Regions from separate parts of the Homo sapiens genome. Here region 2 is linked to region 1. Evidence: promoter capture Hi-C in 16 types of primary human blood cells and fetal thymus (Javierre and others, 2016). All regions are on one chromosome and are shown on one strand. Each heading gives the region's core, a stretch centred on a gene start or on the middle of the fragment in contact. The rest is flanking DNA. Distances are from core to core; before and after follow the strand shown. Region 1 holds the start of ZNF622 (zinc finger protein 622). Region 2 has its middle 5.3 kb from the start of LINC02100.

Region 1 (3,032 bases), core at 315-2,814:
GATCCAAAAAATAAGGAAGCAAGCCAGCAAAAGGATGTTCCAAGCAGAAGAGTAATGGATTTCTGACTTTCTGACTTAGTACCAACTAAAGTGCTTGTTAGAAGAACATCAAATGTGTCATTGCGACTCAAGTAGGGTGAGCAGGGTAGAGAAGGGGGTGTGGCAGGACCTCAGAGGGAGGGGTAGAGCCTCGGAGAATAGAAAGTAAGGTGTTTGAATTTGATTGAGTCAAGGGAAGGCACTGGAAGGTTTTTTAAAGCGCCATCTTCTTTTGGTTTTCTCTTGGCAGCCTGGATTCTGAGCATGCAACATTCGACTCTAACAAGGCTGACTCTGGTTCAACCAGGCTGTGTGGATGAAATCTACGACCTCCCCAAGCATTTGAAGTTCATGTTTTCTTTTTCTTTTGAGATGGAATCTTGCTCTGTTGCCCAGGCTGGAGTGCAGTGGCGCGATCTCGGCTCACCACAACCTCCGCCTCCCGGGTTCAAGCGATTCTCCTGCCTCAACCTCCCAAGTAGCTGGGATTACAGGTCTGCGCCACTGCGCCGGGACTAATTTTTGTATTTTTTAGCAGAGACTGGGTTTCGCCATGTTGGCCAGGCTGGTCTTGAACCCCTGACCTCAGATGATCCGCCCGCCTCGGCCTCGCAAAGTGCTGGGATTACGGGCGTGAGCCACCGCGCCTGGCCTGAAGTTCTTTTCTACAGAACTTTGCTGTCCTATATACATGAGGGTACACAGCCAACTGGGCACCTGGCACGGGTCTAGTCCAAATTGAGATGGGCTGTTAACTCTAAAACACACACTGGATTTCCAAGACTTAGAACCAACGACAGAGCGTAAAAGATCTAATTAATTCTTTTAGACTGATTACATGCTGAAATGACAGGATGGGCTAAATTAAACACATTAAAAGCAGTTTCACCGATTTCTCTTTACTCTTTAAAAATGTGGCTGCTATTAGAATTACCTACGTGGCTTGGACTGTGTGTCTACAGGGAGCTCCTCTCGCGCACTCTGTGCACTCAAATTCCGCCGGTGTCCTCCGCCGGAAGGGCCGCCTCAGAAAGGCCGAGCCCCCGGCCTGGCTTCTCCGGTTTCCCGGGAAAGCGTTGCAACCACGGGCGAGGGCTCCGAGGTCGGCCCCGAGGGGTAAGGGCAGCCCTTGCCTTCGCGACATCCATTCACCCGGCTCCGCAGGTGCAGCGCGCGGTCCTCAGAGAAACCCCGACCCTCGCGTCGCTGACCCGACCATTCATTAATCGGGGGCTTCCCAGGGCCCAGGAGCAGCCTCGGGCGCCCCACTCCCCCATTCTCGCGTAGCCGTCCCCTTGACCGCGTCACACCGAGCGGCACAACCACCAGGGAAGGTAACTGGGAGGGCGCGACCTCCCTCAATCAACAGCCACCTCGGGCTGACTGAGCGGACCCAGGTCCCTTTCAGCCACAGCGTTCCCTCGGCTTCCTGGGCCTCACGGCGGCGGAGGCGTGGCCACAGCCTGAGAGGCGGGTTTCCTGTCCAGTTGTGAATAACTTCCGACGTGTGCCGGAAGTTTCCTCAGTGACAATCAGGAAGTCGGCGTGTCGAGTGGCTCTTCCTGGCTGCTGAGGCGGGTTAAGGTCTGAGGGTCTTGTGGGGCCACGGCGCTGATCACCAGGTGTTTGGCTTGGTCGGTTCTTATTTCTCGCCTGGCAATGGCGACGTACACCTGCATAACTTGCCGGGTGGCGTTCCGCGACGCGGACATGCAGCGGGCCCACTATAAGACGGACTGGCACCGCTACAACCTGCGGCGGAAGGTGGCCAGCATGGCCCCAGTGACCGCCGAGGGCTTCCAGGAGCGAGTGCGGGCGCAGCGGGCCGTCGCGGAGGAGGAGAGCAAGGGCTCGGCCACCTACTGCACCGTTTGCAGTAAGAAGTTTGCCTCTTTCAACGCCTACGAGAACCACCTCAAGTCCCGGCGTCACGTTGAGCTGGAGAAGAAGGCCGTGCAGGCAGTGAATCGGAAAGTGGAGATGATGAATGAAAAGAACTTGGAGAAAGGACTGGGCGTGGACAGTGTGGACAAGGATGCCATGAACGCGGCCATCCAGCAGGCCATCAAGGCCCAGCCGTCCATGTCTCCCAAGAAGGCGCCCCCAGCGCCTGCAAAGGAGGCCAGGAATGTCGTGGCCGTGGGTACTGGTGGCCGTGGGACCCACGACCGAGACCCGAGTGAGAAACCACCCCGGCTCCAGTGGTTTGAACAGCAGGCGAAGAAGTTGGCAAAGCAGCAGGAGGAGGACAGCGAGGAGGAGGAAGAGGACCTGGATGGAGACGGTGATGGCCCTGTCTGGGCGGGGAGGGTAAAGAGGAACTTGGCCCACCCTTAAGTTTCCAGATTTATACTCGAGATGGGTGTGTGTGTGTGTTTGAGAGCTTTTAAGTAAAAATGATGAGGGAAGGTGGTTTAGACGCTTTCTGAAGTGCCTTATCTGGCCAGCAGGTTTGGCTGTTTAGTTCACTCAATTCATTCTCCAAGGCCTAAAACCTTGTCTGGAAAAAGAAGTGCTTAATGCATATTTGGAGAATGAATTGATGCCTTCTGTGTTTTGGATGAAGAGGCTTTTAACATATGCACAGGAGGACATGCTATCGTCATACCAGCTGCCGTGTAATTTGCGATTCTAGTGGGTTTCCAGTTATGATGGTTTTGCACTTAATTTAGTTGAGTAAAACAGAATGAGGGGATCAAAACCAACTCAGCCAGAAATTTGGAGCTGGAGCCAGCACCCTCACCTCTTTGCCTTTATGAGCTATTTATTCCTTACTTCCCTCATCCCACATCCTATTAACAGTGCTGGTGTAGGTGTTCATGTCTTAGTCTGTCCACTCTGCTATAAGGAAGTACTAGAGACTGGGTGATTTATGAACAACATAAATGTATTTTCCCATAGTTCTGGAAATTGGGAAGTCCAAAATCAAGGTGCTGGCAGAGTCAGTGTCTGGTGAGGGCCTGTTCTATAGATGAAGTTTTCTCATGGTGTCA
Region 2 (3,032 bases), core at 320-2,819, 2.3 Mb before region 1:
GTAATATAAAAAACCTAACCTAACTTTTTCAGAAATGAATTCCTCAATCTGCTTTATTTTACTTTTGTTTGCATTGCTCTTATCCTGAGAAGTATTTTAGTTCCTTGAAAGTGAGTGTCAAATTTATCTTCTTTTTTCTTTTTGCTTTTTCTTCATTTTCCAAAGGCATATGGTAGTTATTAAAAAATTGAAAGCAATGAAAGTGATAGAATGATTAAATACATACTTTAGATTATAAAAGAACAGAATTTCCAGCATGACTATTTGAAGACTTCAAACTAGATGTTTCAAAAAAAAATCATGGTATTTTCAATTTTCGTATGTGCTTTTGTGTAGAGTTGTATTCCAATAATAATGGAAACTGTGACTTGGTAAATATGTAAATCAGTTCTTGCTAAGTATTGGCAGTAGTTTTTAGCTAACTTTCTTTGCTGTGAACTTGCTGATCTTGCTGATTATATGTGGTGCTTATCTGTTCAGAGAAGGTAGATATAAAATGTTGAGAACAGAAAGCATTTTCAGGATGGTTTTTACTTTACATAACAGGGAATCTAGGCATGTGTCTTAGATACAGGGTCACAATGCATCTTACTTTTCCCTTGCTAATACAATTGAGAGAGAGCTAAAAGCCTTTAATGGCCTTTAGAAGAGCAGAGATGCTTCATTAATGCAGCATTGAAGGTAAAAAGTTTAAGGATACACAGTTTTTGAACTGTCATAGCCAAATACTTTTCTTTGTTCATCAGAAAAGCAGATGCAAGTTGCCAAGTTGACATCAGGGAAAGGTGTTTCTCTGGGGATGCCATGATTTCATATCTCCTGGCTTACATATTAAGAGATAGAAATGTTTTCTTTTTGAAATGTCTTTGTGGTTTAAACTCAAGTGACATCGACTGCAAATAGCCTGAGGCAAAGTTAGCTTTGATTGTTCCTTTGCTTTGAATGATCTAGTCACTTTAGAAAAGATAAATCATATCAAGGGGAAAATGCTTAGAAATGAAATATGGAAGGAAAAGTATTTTAAACAACACAGATTTGTTTGCTGAAATAATGATTAACCTATCAAATTTCCTGAAACAAAGATTTAATTTTGACTTCTAAATTTTATATTATATTTAAACACATTATTTCTAGTATTATATTATTATTGTTAACTCTAACATTGCAGAATATAAACTCATTTCCTTTTGTCTCTTCATTTCTGAAGGGTCTGGGCCATCTGTATTCCTGCCTGGATAGGCTGTTGTAGTTTCCCATTGACCTTAATCACAGGGCATGGTACTACTAAGAGATGCCCTAATTGATCTCCTGTATTCCATGCATACCCGTCCTCCGTTGTGAAGTAGTGGACCGATTTCATCTTGATAGTCTGGGTCAATCACCCCAGCTAACACTGTAACTCCCTTCTTAGCCTGTTGACTTAAAGGTAAGAGGAGCCCAAAGTGTCCAGGTGGCAATCTTAACTTCCAGTTTAATGGAATCGTTGTTGTCTCTTCTGGTGGCAGCATTCCTCCCTGTGGAACTAACATGTCTAGGCAAGCAGAACATAATGTCACAAACACAGGAAGCAAAAATTTTGCTGGTGGATCACTAGGGGTGATGGTGAGTGGTTCCACTTCCAATTCTACCCCTTGATTCCTGGACCCATGAATCCTAGCTATGAGAGAAATAGTACCATATATTGGACACTGATTCAGAGCATACACAGCCTTCTGGAGAACTTTGCTCCAGCCCTGCAAAGTATGGTCACCTAGTTTGCATTGTAATTGTGACTTCAAAAGGCCATTCCATTGTTTTATCAATCCAGCTGCTTCAGGATGATGGGGAACATGGTAAGACCAGTGAATTCCATGAGCATGAGCCCACTGACACTCTTCTTTAGCCATGAAGTAAGTGCCTGGGTCAGAGGCAATGCTATGTGGAATACAATGATGGTGGATAAAGCCTTCTGTAGTCCATGGATGGTAGTCTTGGAAGAAGCATTGTGTGCAGGATAGGCAAACCCATATCCAGAGAAAGTGTCTATTCCAGTAAGGACAAGCCTCTACCCTTTCCATGATGGAGGAAGTCCAATAAAATCAACCTGTCACCAGGTAGCTGGCTGATCACCATGAGGAATGCTGCCATATCGAGGGATCAGTGTTGGTCTCTGCTGCTGGCAAATTGGGCACTCAGCAGAGGCCGTAGCCAGGTCAGCCTTGGTGAGTGGAGGTCCATGTTGCTGAGCCCGTGTGTAACCTCCATTCCTGCCACCATAGCCACTTTGGTCATGGGCCCATCAGGCAATGATAGGTGTAGCTGGGGAAAGAGGCTGAGTGGTGTCCACAGAACAGGTCATCCTATTAACTTGATTATTAAAATCCTCCACTGCTGAGGTCACCCATTGGTGAGCACTCTCATGGGATACAAATATCTTCACAGTTTTTAACCCCTCAGAGGGGTACATCTACATACCTCTTCCCCAAATTTCTTTGTCACCAATTTTCCAATAATGCTTCGTCCAAGTCCCTGACCATCCAGCCAAACCATTGGCTACGGCCCATGAATCTGTATATAACCACACATCTTGCCATTTCTCCTTCCATGCAAAGTGCACAACTAAGTGCACTGCTCCAAGTTCTGCCCACTGGGAAGATTTCCCTTCACAGCATCCTTCAGGGATGCCCTAGAAAGGGGCTGTAGTGCTGCAGCTGTCCACTTTTGAGTGGTGCCTGCATATCGTGCAGAACCATCTGTGAACCAGGCCCTAGTCTTCTCTTCCTCTGTCAACTGATCAAAGGGAACTCCCTGTGAGGCCATCGGTGCAGGATGGGGAAGAGAAGGCAGGGTGGCAGGAGTGGAGAACATGGACATTTGAGCCACTTCCTCATGTCGCTTATTTAAGCCTTCAGGACCAGCTTGAGTCCAATCATGTATATACCACTTTCATTTGATGATGGAATGCTGCTGTGCACGACCCGCTTTATGGCTAGATAGGTCAGAAAACACCCAGTTGAGGTTGCATGGTGACTTGATGACTCATAGTCAAATGT

What was found. The method cuts DNA at HindIII sites, captures the fragments that hold promoters and counts their contacts. A CHiCAGO score of 5 or more calls a contact.
Region 2: a contact is called between a fragment that was not itself captured here and the fragment with the promoter of ZNF622 in region 1, in 1 of 17 cell types (activated CD4 T cells). The highest score is 7.6, in activated CD4 T cells.

The regions. Positions count from the first base shown.
Region 1 is chr5:16,464,332-16,467,363 of GRCh38, reverse strand. It overlaps ZNF622 (zinc finger protein 622), which reads left to right and starts at 1,564. Exons shown (of 6, transcript NM_033414.3): 1 at 1,564-2,323. The coding sequence starts at 1,699. RefSeq lists a silencer at 157-379 and an enhancer at 2,187-2,256. The HindIII fragment of the contact is 4,211 bases long and covers 1-3,032 here.
Region 2 is chr5:18,749,899-18,752,930 of GRCh38, reverse strand. No RefSeq gene overlaps it. Among named protein-coding and RNA genes, the nearest start is that of LINC02100, 5.3 kb to the right of the region's middle. The HindIII fragment of the contact is 4,711 bases long and covers 1-3,032 here.